Regions from separate parts of the Homo sapiens genome. Here region 2 is linked to region 1. Evidence: promoter capture Hi-C in 16 types of primary human blood cells and fetal thymus (Javierre and others, 2016). All regions are on one chromosome and are shown on one strand. Each heading gives the region's core, a stretch centred on a gene start or on the middle of the fragment in contact. The rest is flanking DNA. Distances are from core to core; before and after follow the strand shown. Region 1 holds the start of RNF111 (ring finger protein 111). Region 2 overlaps RNF111 (ring finger protein 111).

What was found. The method cuts DNA at HindIII sites, captures the fragments that hold promoters and counts their contacts. A CHiCAGO score of 5 or more calls a contact.
Region 2: a contact is called between a fragment that was not itself captured here and the fragment with the promoter of RNF111 in region 1, in 5 of 17 cell types (megakaryocytes, erythroblasts, endothelial precursors and 2 more). The highest score is 7.6, in megakaryocytes.

The regions. Positions count from the first base shown.
Region 1 is chr15:58,985,167-58,992,472 of GRCh38, forward strand. It overlaps RNF111 (ring finger protein 111), which reads left to right and starts at 2,497. Exons shown (of 14, transcript NM_017610.8): 1 at 2,497-2,902. RefSeq lists a silencer at 3,216-3,380 and an enhancer at 5,944-6,443. The HindIII fragment of the contact is 2,845 bases long and covers 804-3,648 here.
Region 2 is chr15:59,084,541-59,091,846 of GRCh38, forward strand. RNF111 (ring finger protein 111) reads left to right here. Exons shown (of 14, transcript NM_017610.8): 10 at 1,119-1,245; 11 at 5,127-5,219; 12 at 6,519-6,614. Among named protein-coding and RNA genes, the nearest start is that of CCNB2, 17 kb to the right of the region's middle. The HindIII fragment of the contact is 1,282 bases long and covers 3,475-4,756 here.

The DNA.
Region 1 (7,306 bases), core at 1,247-3,746:
CTCCGCCCAGCATTTTCCAAAGCTCATATGTTTATAGATGGCCCTACCTCATGTTTCATAAGGAAGTCAAGGTCATTCAGTGAACAAGCCCTCAATTTGCCCCCTGAAGCTAACATACCTAAACTGCAGTCTTCTTCCTTCTCACCTGTTTCAGTGGAAAGGCCATCCCTTCTCCTATCCAAGGCTAAATTTCCATCTGAGCTTTAAATCTCATTTCCTCTGGCTCCATAGGTATTTTTCTCCATTGCGCATCCCTTTATTTTCTTTATCTTTCCACTCCTTTTTTCTACTGACTCTTTTCCTTCAGCATCCCAACAGGGTTGAAGCCCTCACCCTTTTATTTCATCTGGGGTTTCTCAACTGCATTATTAACATTTTCGGCCAAAGAATTCTTTGTTGTGGAGAGGCCAGCATCCCTAGCCTCTATCCTAGTGGATAGATGCCAGTAGCCACGCCCCTCCTCCCTGAGTTGTAACAAACAGCAATGTCTCCGGATGTTGCTAAATCATCCCAGCTTCAGAACCACTGATTTAACCCAATATATCCAAAATATTATTTCAACATATAATAAATATTAAAAAGTACTGAGATTTTTCAGTCTTTTTTTGTATTGTACCTTTGAAATTCGATGTGTATTTTTCACTTAAAGCACTTCTCAATTATTTTTATTTATTTATTTTTTTAGGGAGACGGAAAAGGAAAAGGGGAGGGGAGAGGGAGAAGAGGAGGGAGTCTAGCCACATTTTAAGTGCTCAGCAGCCACATATGGCTGGTGTCTACCTAATTGAAGAACACAGGTCAAAAGCTTCAGAAAAAAGGTTAGAGCTGGAAATACAGGTTTGAGAAGTCATGAGATAGTAACAGTTAAAATCAAGGGAGAAGATAAGATAGTCCGGGCAAAATTCTATGTTTAAGAGTGAGAAAATAGGAGGATTGAGGAAAATCCTAGTCGAATGCTCTTTTAGTTTTCCCACACAATCTGCTATCCTTGATCATTATTGTAATTTTAAAATCATTTGTGTGTGTGTGTGTGTGTGTGTTTTGTTTGTTTGTTTGTTTGTTTGTTTTGAGACGGAATCTCACTCTGTCGCCCAGGCTGGAGTGCAGTGGCACAATCTCGCACTCACTACAACCTCTGCCTCCCGGGTCCTAGCAATTCTCCTGTGTCAGCCTCCCGAGTAGCTGGGGTTACAGGCGCCCGCCACTACGCCCGGCTAATTTTTTGTATTTTTAGTAGAGACAGCGTTTCACCGTGTTAGCCAGGATGGTCTCCATCTCCTGACCTCATGATCCGCCCGCCTTGGCCTCCAAAAGTGCTGGGATTACAGGCGTGAGCCACCGCGCCCAGCCTTTTTTTTTTTTTTCTTGGAGACGGAGTCTCCCTGTCACCCGGGCTGGGGTGCAATGGCTTGATCATGGCTCACTGCAACCTCGGCCACCCTGGCTCAAGCGATTCTCCTGCCTCAGCCTGCCGAGTAGCTGGGATTACAGGCGTCCGCCACCACGCCCAGCTAGTTTTTGTATTTTTAGTGGAGAAGGAGTTTCACCATGTTGGCCAGGCTGGTCTTGAACTCCTGATCTCAGGTAGTCCACCCGCCTAGGCCTCCCAAAGTGCTGGGATTACAGGCGTGAGCCACCGTGCCCGGCCAAAATCATTTGCTTACTGAATGATACGGAAAATATGAGTGAACAAAAAAAGTATTGAAAAAGATGAGTTGATGGCAAAGGGAGGGAATTAATGTTTAGTGAACACTTAATTGGCAAGTAATGTTCAGAGCATTATATAAATTGTCTCATTTAATCTAACAAGAACCTTTTGAGGTAAATACGTTATCCCAATTTATAGAGGAGGAAACTAAGATTTATAAGGATCTCATCAATCAGAGAACTCTTAAGTGGCACCACTGGACTTTGAAAGGAAGTCTGCCTGATGGACTCTGAAGCTCATCCTCTCTCTATCCTCCTAATGCATATAATGACGCATTTGTTATCTACTGACTTTTATAAAATAAACAAGGAGGCTTATGCGATTGTACAGCCCGAGTTCGCAGGAGATATGTGACCACTTTTGATCTGATTCCGGAAGCAAATTCACTTTAACAGTGAGGTGCCGTGATCTTTATGTCATTAGCGCATATGATATGGGTATCATTTGTTGTGAAAGACACTAACCCATGATGTTTTTGTTTACGTATATCTGTAAATGTATCAATTCTGTAGTTGGTTAATTTTTAGTTACGAAAAAATGAACCAAGATGTAGTCAAGATTTGGCTTAAATGTTGAACGCATAATCACCAAAGAAAATTAAATAATGAGCTTTGTGACACCTTTCAGTTCGCCAACAGACTGATAAAACCAGTACAAAGGGGGAGGGCCGGGACCGAGGGGGCGGGACGGTGAGAAACGGGAATCGAGCAAGCGCAGAAACAAACAGATGTTAATGGAGGCGTGAAGGCTACTGCGCTCTCACTTTCCGAACTGTCGTAAAGAGCCCTAGTGTCGTGCTCTCCTCGGTAGGGGAGGAATTGGTTAGGCGGCGGCGGCGGCGAAGCGGCGGCGGCGGCTGTAGGGGAGCAGCGGCAGTGGCGGCGACGGCGAGGAGGTGTTCGGTTTGCGCAGCGTAGAAACGCCCGCAGCTTCAGAGAAGGAGTTCTTGTGGGACCAAATTAGGCATTCTGAACCCACGCCGGCTTAGCTGGGCCGAGTCCAGGCGCTGCCGCACGTACAGTTTTGGTGGCGGTGACAGACACTGTTCTTGACTCTAGGGGCCTATTAGGCCGACGTCTGAGGCGCAGATCGCTGGCTCTCGACGCATTACTCTTTACGCCTTACATTTCTGTCTTCCTTCCTGGGTCAGTGATTCCCGGACCCTGGAAGAGAAGAGGGTGGCTAATGATTAAGGTGAGGGGAACGGGGGGGGAGGGGATCCATTGGAGGCCGCGCGTGCGCGCAACGGGGGAGGGGCCGGCCTGGAGGGGAGAAAGAGGAAGGGCTGCGGCCGCGGAAGGCTGGGGTCGGTGACCGGCCGGTTATCTCTGGCTCGGTGGTGACTTAGGGTCTGGGTCTCCGCAGACGATTTGTGTTTGGGCAAGGCATTCGTCTACCGACACACCCACAGCCTACAGTGAGGGAGTGTGGGTGAGGGGATTTCTCTCCCACTTCCGACTCTCCCTAGAGTCTCAGGATGGGGGCTGAGGACCGAGGCGTGGGAGTGCGATTTGACAATGGAGTGATGAAGGTAACCCGGACCCGGGGAGTTGGAGGGCGCTAAGTCAGCCCTGACGGCTAGGGAGTCGCCTGCTGCTGCTGTGATCAAGGAAACGTAGTCCGCGGAACAGCTGAAATACAGACGCGTCAGATTTTGTATGGAGTTGGCTTGTTGGTCATTTAAAAAGAAACTGATGTTTTTACTATTGTCCTTCGATAATTTATCAGAGTCAGTGTCAGTGCTATAGTGGGAATATCTGTTCAGTGCAGCAGAAATAGATTTGTTACAACAGTTCTTAAATAGGTTATAGTAGATAGATCTTTACAGATGGGTATTTCTCAACCTAAGTTTTGATTATTCAAAAAATACCAGAAAGTATGAGGTATTCATTTAATTTGTTCGTGTGTGTGTTGTGGGGTGACTCCATTGTGTTGTTGTAAGCTTTCCTGTTTCTTGATTTATGTGCGGCATTAATTTAGAATTCTCTTGAATGGTAAGATGCCAGCTGACATAGACTACGTTTTGTAGGATTTCCTGTAGCTTTTGAATGTGACTTAATCTAAACTTTATTTCATTTGGTATTTTATCTATAATTTTCTTGTTTTAGGGGCCTCTTGAACTAAAAAGAACAAACTGGGAAAAACATAAGCTAAGGTTCCATTTCCTTTCCCATTTTTGTTGTGTGTGTGTGTGATGGTTGTAAATGCTTGAATGTGATTTTGAGATTACCATACACAACTTCTGTAACGCTGGACTTAGCTTTATTACAGTAAAGATACATCTTTTGATAGTTTATTACTATATGTATTTTTGTAAAAATCTTCATGTCAGTATAAGCCACATTGTTTCACCCTAGTCTGGTTATATTTGTGAGGTGAAACAGATGGATAAGAAGGAAGCCCTTTTACTTTTACAATCATTTTAAATTGATTGTTTCTAAAGCCTTGATTTATCTTATTTTGGACACTTTCTTGCCATTTAACCTTGGACAAATGACTTTATCATCTCTCTCCTGCTCATTTGTTTGTGACCAAAGATTCACAACAGTATTCTAAGAATTGGTGAGGGTGTTTATAAATCTAAATAATATTTTAGGAAAAAGTAGGAAGAATGAGTCTCCTTGTTTATCACGGGTGCTATATCATGTGCAGATCCTTCTGTCACTTCTTAACTTTTGTTTGGTGTCTGTTGGCCACTTGTTTGCTAGTTATTTCACCAGACATAGAACTGGTTTTTAAAGAAAGGTATAAACAAAGTGACTTCATTTTGGTGAAAAATGCATTACAGCAGAGGTTACATCTTAACGAATTTCACTTTGGTACTCCATTTCTACAGATTATTGAGAGAGAGCTGTTGTGATGTTTAAGAGAAAAGCACCTTGCTTGTATAAAGCTAAGGTGCAGTCATTTAGCAGATACTCCTAGTTATTTTACTTTAAAATAAAAAATATAAAGGAAACTAATTGAATCAAACCATTTAGATTTTTAGATGTTTCCTTCTTTTTTTTTTTGTTATAGTTTAAAGAGAGGTTTCTGTATCATGCTTTACTTGAGGCATACTTATGTGCCCTTCTTTTGACTTTTTCTCCCCTTTTGGGCCAAGACTTCAGTAGGAAATAAAAGAGACCATCTGAAAAATGATAGCAGTTAAAATATGTTATAACTTGACATTACCGTTCTATGGGTAACGTTATCTTATGAAATAATATAGGGCTAAGGACAGGAGATCTAGATTTTAGATCTATCTTTGCTTGCTATACATTAGATCTCCGAGTTTATTGTTAACCCTCCTTGGGCTTCAGGTCTCTCTGTTTAAATGAGAATTGTAGAATAGATAACTTTCGTTTTCTTTAGGTCCCAAATTTAATGGTTTGTATATCTAGTTAGGTTTTTGGTATTCATTGTTGTGTTTGTCGTAATTGAATCCCCAGAAAGAAATGCTGTACAAAAAGCATCAATTCCCTCATGAAATGTGTATGTGTAAAACCTGTCATGAAGCTGTGGGCCAGGCGTGGTGGCTCACCCCTGTAATCCCAGCACTTTGGGAGGCCAAGGCGGGCGAATCACTTGAGGTGACCAGTCTGGCCAAAATGGTGAAACCCCATCTCTACTGAAAATACAAAAAATTAGCCGAGCTTAGTGGTGTGCGCCTGTAGTCCCAGCTGCCTGGGAAGCTGAGGCAGGAGAATGGCTTGAACCTCGGAGGCGGAGGTTGCAGTAAGCGGAGATCGTGCCACTCACTGCACTCCAGCTTGGGCGACAGAGCGAGACTGTTTCTCAAAACAAACAAACAAAAAAACTATGATTGTTGTTCCACATATTATTGCTATTGTTGTCCCATTGTAGATATTAATTACTGAAGCTTTAATAGCTTTCAGATGGTACTAAAAATGAAATTTTTTATTACTCCTGGTAACATTTTAAAAATCATCTGGAATAATTTGTTTTTCTTTCAGAAACCTGTAATTATTGTTCAGTAAAAGTCCACAATTACATTTGAATGTCTTATACCTCTGTTTGTTTCTTTCCTACATCCTACAGATTCTTGGTAACAGCTGGCCCAGGTTTCTACAGGTACTCAATTTATATCATTACATGAGGAGTGAATTACAAATATTTAAAGACAAATACTTAGCTGAGGCTGGGTGCGCTTGCTCATACCTGTAATCCCAGCACTTTGGGAAGCCGAGGCGGGTAGATCATGAGGTCGGGTTCGAGAGCAGCCAGGCCAACATGGTGAAACCCCGTCTGTACTAAAAAAAAAATACAAAAATTAGCTGGGCATGGTGGTGGCATGCGCCTGTAATCCTGGCTGCTCAAGAGGGTAAGGCAGAATTGCTTGAACCCGGGAGGTGGAGGTTCCACTGAGCTGAGATCTGCACTCCAGCCTGGGTGACAGAGCAAGACTCCATCTTGAAAAAAAACAAAACAACAAAAAAGCCTCCAAATACTTAGCTGAGCTTACATTTTAAAGAGCGGTACTGCATTATTACGTAGATACATTTATTGAATGTCTCATGTTCTAGGCACAGTCACTGGTCTTCAGTGAAGGCACTCTGCCTTCATGGAGCTGACATTCTGTTCTGTGTGTGGGAACATAATAAACAGAATGGTTTCAGGTAGTGGTAAGTGCCATGAGGAAAATAGGACCATGTGATACGGCATGGATGGAAGTGGTTTTACTGTAGATTGAGTGGTTAGGGAGGGCCTTTTTAGAGGTGGTAATTTGACCTGTGACTTCAATGACTAGAAAAAATCAGCCATAGTGACGATTTGGAGGAAGACTGCTACAGATAGCAGGGGCGGCAAATGCATTAGGTGAGGTTTGATTCTAGAGAATCTACAAATGTAAATTAATTATTTGGTTTGTCTGTTAAGCTTTTCATATTTGCTGTCAGATGATGTAGACAGATTAAAATTATTTTATGTGTAGTAACCAAATACAATATGTTGGTGTTGTTTAAACCCTGACTCAAACCAATTGTAGAAAGTCATTTTTGAAACATTGGGGGAAATCTGAATATGGATGGGTATTAGATGATATCAAGGAGTTATTGTAACTTTGTTAGGGATGATAATGGCATTATGTTTATGTAAGAAAATGACCACTTTTTATTAGTGATAGAGACTGAGGAATGAGGGAGAAAACTTGCAAATGTCTGGTATTTTATTTTATTTTATTTTATTTTGAGATGGAGTTTCCCTCGTTGCCCAAGCTGGAGTGCAGTGGTGTGATCTCAGCTCACTGAAGCCTCCACCTCCCGGGTTCAAGCAATTCTTCTGCGTCAGTCTCCTGAGTAGCTGGGATTACAGGAGCGCGCCACCACGCCTGCTAACTTTTTGTATTTTTAGTAGAAACGGTTTTTCACCATGTTAGCCAGGCTGGTCTTGAACTCGTGATCTCAGGTGATTCGCCCGTCTCGGCCTCCCAAAGTGCTGGGATTACAGACGTGGGCCACCGTGCCCAGCAATGTCTGTTATTTTAAACAGATACCAGATAAAAACCAAAAAATGTGGTGGAGGGAGATAAGATAGATGAAGCAGGTCTGGCACAATCTGGATAATTGTTGGGTTGGGGTGATGGGTACATGGGTATTA
Region 2 (7,306 bases), core at 2,866-5,365, 100 kb after region 1:
ACATACATACATTGTGAAATGATTAAATCAGGCTAATGGCACATTTATCACCTCCAATATTGATCATTTCTTTGTGGTGAGTATATTTAAAATCTTTTGTCGCAGTTTTGAAATAAACGGTACGTTATTCTTCACTGTAGTCACCATGCTGTGCAGTAGAATATCAGAACTTACTCCTCCCAGCTGAAGCTTTGTACCCATCGACCAGCATCTCCCCTTTCCTCATTCATGACCCCCCACCCTCTCCCCAGCCTCTGGTAAACAACATGCTACTCTCTCCTGTGAGTTTAGGTTTTTTAGAGTTCCCATGTAAGTAAGAGGCGTGGACCTTTTTTCCTGTTCTTCAGGGTTACTACCAAAGTTGACTCCCTCGACTGATCTTACTTTTCACATCTTCTTTATCTGACCCCCACCTTTGTACTCAGATTTGCTCCACCACCCTCACCTGCCATTGACAAGGGAAATTTAGCCTGCCTTCTCCTAGACTTGTGGTCTTTCCTAGATAGGTGGAAGCAGATTTTCATTAGATTAATTTTCTGAATCCATTGTGTGTGGGCATTCATTGAGATCTTGAACCACAATGACTTTTGAGGCAGAACATAAAATGAGAATAAGTAAATGAAGACTTAGCATATAACAGTTTTACCCCTTCTAAAATTTTGTTTGCCCTTCTTTTATAAGGTGTAGAAGAGTTTGCTATTCTAATCGTCCTTAATGTCAACAACCAAGAGATGATATCTAGCAAACAAAAACCCAGAGAGCATCTGTAACATTCAGATACACCAAAAAAGTAAATTCTATGTTGTATGCTCCTCAAGTAGAATCAGACTTTTATCTTGGAAGGGAACTTCGTAGCCATATATTTCCTTCCTTTGTAAGATGTGAAACCAAGTAGAAATGCTTTGCTCCTCATTGTCACAAAATTTAAGTTTTTAGAGCTTTCAGTTCTAAAATAAATTTGAAATTATTAGTTAAATATTTTGGGCTAAATTATCTTTCCTCAGCTTTGTAAGTTAAGAAACCTTAGATTACTTTTTTAAGTGTAAACATAACTCCCCATGTCTGTTGATAAAAAAGAGACCCTAAGGAGGATTAAACTGTTCTCATCCTTTCGTTAGGGAACTGGGAATTGAAGCTGGAGTGACTGCAGCTACTTATACACCTGGTGCATTGCATCCTCACTTGGCCCATTATCACGCACCTCCTCGACTTCATCACTTACAATTAGGAGCTCTTCCTTTAATGGTAAAATGGAAAATTTTCAAAATTTTGACATGTTCTAAAAGTTCCTTTTCTAAGTATTTTATTGGAAATACTTCACTATATTAATATAGATGTTTTAATAGAATTTGAGAGTAATCTTGTTAGCTAAAATTGTGCTATAAAAAGGTATTAGATGTATTAAAATCTGCACGTATAATTTGCATCATAACATGTACTCTTAATGTACGACATGACAAAAAAGTGTGGGGTTTTTTGTATACCAAGATACTCTTAATCCACTGTCAGGAGTATACTGTGCTTCAGTTATTTTGCCGTAAGTGGTAATAGATCCGTTCTGATGCAGTCATACTTGATTTTCTTTTTTCTTTTTTTTTCGACAGAGTCTCACTCTGTCACCCAGGCTGGAGTGCAGTAGTATGATCTCAGCTCACTGCAACCTCCACCTCCTGGGTTCAAGTGATTCTCCTGCCTCAGCCTCCCAAGTAGCTGGGATTACAGGCACGTGCCACCATGCCTGGCTAATTTTTGTATTTTTAATAGAGATGGGGTTTCACCATTTGGCCAGGCTGGTCTCAAACTCCTGGCCTCAAGTGATCTGCCCACCTTGGCCTCCCAAAGTGCTGGGATTACAGGCTTGAGCCAGGGCACCCAGCCTGATTTTCTAATCTGCAGAAAGATTATACTAATTCTCTACATCTGATTTAAGCAGGTTCAGATTTTGTAAAGTGCTAAAGGACAAGTTCAGCAAAACATACATTGCGTTTGCTGTTTGTATTACATACTTGTTATATAAATGGTACAGAAAAGGGAATAGTTTTGTGTTGTTGTGGGTAGAGGCACTGCAGGAAAGCTTTCAGAGAAGCTTTCTGGTACATGTGACTTCTAAGCAGACTGGATTATGGAATGGTGCTCTTGCAGAGGTTACAGCATGTAAAGATGTAGCAAATAGCACAAGCACTGGGAACTCCAAGTAAGCTGGTGTTTCTAATTTTAGGAGTGAGGGTCAGGCAGCAGTGAGAAATAAAACTGTTCTACCAAGAAACTGGAACTCAGGAACCATTGAAGGGGAAATGTCCTGATCAAATTTATGATTTTAGAGTTATTTAATCAGATTATAGTTAGATCACCTCCTCAGTTATGTGGAAAAATAGATGTAAATGTGGGAAACCAGTTAGGACATTATAGTAGAAGAGGTAAATATTGATGAATGCCTGAATGAAGGCAATTGTAGTTGGCATAAAAATGATGATACACATTTGAGAGATATTTAGGGTTTGGGTGAAGGGGTTAGGTGAGTTAGGTCTTGGATGTACTGAATCTCTATGAAAGTTGAATGTCCAATAGGAAGTTAAGCCTGTGGTCTGGATTTCCAAAGATATTTGGGTTAAAGATATGTTTTGATCTGTCAGTATATGGAGGTAATGAATCCATGGAAGAGGATTAGGTTTTCAGGAAAAATGTGCAGAGTGACAAGAGGGTGAAAAAACCTTAGAGAATGACAATACTGTATTTAAATGATAATACTATGCTTTGAACAAAGGATTCTGAGAACTGGCTTGAAAAGTTGAGAAACACAGTTAAAATAATATCAGAAAATACAGTTACCACTTGAACAATGCAGAGGTTAGGGGTGTTGACCCTCCTCACAGTCGAAAATCAGAGTATAACTTTTGAGTTCCTAAAATCTTAACTACTAATAGTCTATTGTTGATCGGAAGCCTTACTGCTAAAATAAACAGTTGATCAACACATATTCTGTATGTTATAAGTACGTGATAATGATAGTCTACAATAGATAATGATAGTTTACAATAAAGTAGAAAAAAATGTTAAGAAAATTATAAGGAAGGGAAAATACATTTACTATTCGTTAAGTGAAAGTGTATCATTATAAAGGTCTCTTTCCTTATTGTCTTCACATTGAGTAAGCTGAAGAGTAGGAAAAGGAGGGATTCATCTTGCTGTCTCTGGGGTGGCAGAGGTGGCAGAAAATCTACATGTAAGCAGACCCATGCAGTTCAAACCCATTTTATGTTGTTCAAGGGTGAACTGTAATATGGTCAGTATGGTGTCATCACAAAAAAATAAAGTTTGAAAAGTATTGAAAGCATTTGGCAGTAGAGTGGTTATTGGTCTTTTGTGTCAGAATGGTTCAGTAATGGTGAGTGATGTAGATGGGGCACCTCTTAGATTACGTACGGTAAGGAAGTGAAAACATGGAGACAGTGAATATAGCCTTCTTGCTTTATAAGCTTGGCTGTGAAGGGAAAGTGAAGGAAACCCCTATTTGGTTGGCAGTAATTCCAGGATTAGTAGAGAATTTAGGTTTGGAAAAACTTAAGGTATTTTCAGGTTTAAGACAGAAAACCATTAGAGAGGAATTGTTTGAAGATATTGAAGAGAGAGAGGCTTGGTGGGAAGTAGTGAAGTAAGCATGACCCAGGGTGAACAGGTGAAGGGAGGAGTGGGTGATAAGGATTGAGTTCGAATAGGAGAAAAGCTCATCCATAAAGGCTGGAGGAAAGAGACTAGGGAGGAGAGGCTTTTCAGGGTAAGTGAAGATTTAGATAATTTGGGATGCAGGAGTTCCTTTCCGATTTCTTTGAAGATGTTTAGGAGGTTGGGTTATCTGCTGAGTAGTAATGATCTTGGTTATAAGAAAAGTTGTAAACAATTTAAGTAATAGGCTATTGAAGGTTAAAAGTTATTGCTTATTTAAATTCTTTTCCACATATGAAGTGTCCGTTAAAGCTATAAATTCTGCTTAAAGTATGTTGTGATTCAGTGTAGGCTAATTAAAAAGTAATGTCAGAGATTTATTTATAAAGATGGAAGAATGGTGCTGTATCTCAGAAATGCCCTTTCCTAATACTCTCACTATGCATGGCAGTTATGATCTATACAGTTGCTGCAAACACTGAATTAGCAAATATGGGACCCTTGCAAACCTCTGTTCACAACTAATCAGTGTATAACCTTTTTTATGTGTGTTTCTGCTTAAAGACAACTTTAAAAAATATTGTAGAATCATTAACATTGAACTCATAGCCAACAACACTGTAACTCATGCGTGAATGAAACTTATTCTCTCCATAAGGTGTATGACAGCCTTCTTTGCTTAGGAACACTAGACAGCACTTCAGCTCTATGCTTGGGTGCCATTTTAAACAACACAATCACCAACAAAAAGCACAAAACTGTGAAAAACGTGGCACTAAACAGTCTGCAAACAAGACACTGGTTTATAGTAGGAGCTCAAATACGGCAGAGCCCTGTTCTACCTCAGCTGGGAACAGAGTTGCATGTTGGGCAACTGCAATTTTTTGCCACCGGTCATATCCACGAATGACTCTGAAAGCACAAGTGTTGATTATGGGGTTACAAGTAAATTTTAGCCTGTGGGTCAGTTCACACATATGTAATCCATAAATAATGAAGATTGACTGTAACTAACAAAAAATTAGAAAACAGTGTTAAAAGTTTCCCTAATAGAATCAAGCAAAAAAGGCATAGGGTACTTTGGCTGTTAGGAAGCTTAACAGAAGTGAAGTAAAAAACTTATCTTGAAGTCGAATTTTGTTGGAAAATTGTGTGCATTTTTTGTTGTTGTTTTAATAAAGCTCTCTGAAATGGACAGGATCTTAAGACAATTTTACTCTTTTCAAGTTTGAGCTACTAAGAGCCTCAGGCTTAAGTTTGGGCATTTTGGAGAGTTAGGTTATATTTTAACAGAAACCTAAACCTGTTACAGAATGCTTAGTTGGAGTTATGTATTCTTATTGAAGTCAAATTTTATGAGCAGTTGAATTGAAAACATTGAGGGTCTTGAATTATTCAATGTTAACAGTAAATCACAAGTCTATTCTTAAAATTGATTTAGCCTATCTCTTCTGTTGAAATAGGTTCCTGATATGGCAGGCTATCCTCACATCCGTTACATTTCATCAGGATTGGATGGAACATCATTCAGAGGTCCTTTCAGGGGCAATTTTGAGGTATGTAATAAAATAAATGAATATGTTTGTCACAGTATCTTTAATGCAGATTGAGTATATATATACTACTATACACAATTGTGTAGGACTGCTACAGTGGCTGGGAATCACATGTGATTTTCTGATGTTGCTTCTGGGAGTTACAGAAATATTTGTAAGTATTATTAATCTTAGGGTCAAAAGTTACCGAAATATTTAAAGATGAGTAAATGAAAATATCTAATATAGAAGAATATAAAAATGTATTAAATCAATATAAATGTCAGATATATAACTATACCATTAAATGTGGTGGGGAACGGAATGTTTTTGACTCAGCTAAATTTTTAGAGAAATCGGTAGAGAAAAAGAAACTTAAGTAATTCCCTTTGTAGCTAAATGTCTTGTTTGAATTTTCAGGAAGAACAAATCATTCGAATGGGATTTAAAGTTTTGTTGTGGTTTGTTTTTTTGTTTGTTTGTTTGTTTGTTTGTTGTTGTTGTTTTTTTAGATGGAGTCTTGCTCTGTCACCCAGACTGGAGTGCAGTTGCACAATCTCAGCTCACTGCAACCTGCGCCTCCTGGGTTCAAGCAATTCTCCTGCCTCGGCTTCCTGAGTAGCTGGGATTACAGGTGCCCGCCACCACGCCCGGCTAATTTTTGTATTTTTAGTAGAGATAGTGTTTTGCCATGTTGGCCAGGCTGCTCTTGAACTCCTGACCTCAAGTGATCCACCCACCTTGGCCTCCCAAAGTACTGGGATTACAGGCGCAAGCCACCGCACCCGGCCCCCGTTGTGTTTTTTTTATGTCAGTTTGGAAGTTGGAGTCATTGTGACTTAGAACTATTGTTTGATTTGGTTCCTTAATTTACTAGAATTATTTCATCTTCTCCATACATACATACATACTGACTTACATAGTACCATGTGATAATATTGTTGTAATTTATAAAGATAACTTTTGCTGTACCATTTCAGTTGGCTGAGGAAAACATGATAAACAACCATTTGCCTTACTGTCTATGAGAAACATTAAGTCAGGCATGGTGGCTCACACCTGTAATCTCAGCAGTTTAGGAGGCCGAGGTGGGAGGATCACTTGAGGCCAGGAGTTTGAGACCAGCCTGGGCAACATATAAACTGTTTTATATATATACTTATATATAAGTAACCACTTGTCATGTGTAAGTTTTTTTGAACACTGTATTTATATTGCAAGTTTCTAAGTATGGAGGTTTATTTCTTATACAATGTTGACAGTTCTGTTCAAGGAATAATCATCTTGGCTTTTACCAGTCATTATATTCTTCACTTTCAGGAACTGATTCATTTGGAAGAAAGATTAGGCAATGTCAATCGTGGAGCATCCCAGGGGACAATTGAAAGATGTACATATCCACATAAATACAAAAAGGTAAGAATTTATTCTATGAAACTTCTGGAGTGTTACTGAAAGGCATAAATGTAATATATACCTTTTTTGAATTTGTAGACTCTAGCAATGACATTTTTATTGAAGTAATGCATACATATTGTTTAAAAATTTTGGAAAGTATAAAAAATATATACTTTGCAGTTTTTTACTCTGCAGACCCTAGTCCTTCTTCCCAGAAGTGAAATCATAGTTAAGGATTTAGATATTCTTCTAGATATTTTTTAGCATTTTCTAATAATGTGCATATGTATATATATTTTTGTCTACTTTAAAAAAAACACAAAAGGAGATGATTACCACATAGTTTGCAGATTGCCTTTCATGCCAATTAGCTCCCACAGATCACCCTTATTATTTTTAATAGCTTATGCAGAATTCCATCATATGGCAGTACTGTAATTTTTTTAACTAGCAATTTATTTTGACGGACATTTTATTGATGTATGTTTCTTCTACTCTACCCTCAGTTGCTTGTATAGCATTATACAGTTATGGGGTAGACATGTTAAATACGTGTCTTAAACCATGCTCAATACCAACGGTCCCCAACCTTTTTGACACCAGGGACCAGTTTTCATGGAAGACAATTTTTCATGGATAGGTGGCAGAGGGGATAGTTTCAGAATGAAACTATTCCACCTCAGATTATCAGGCATTAGTTAGATTCTCTT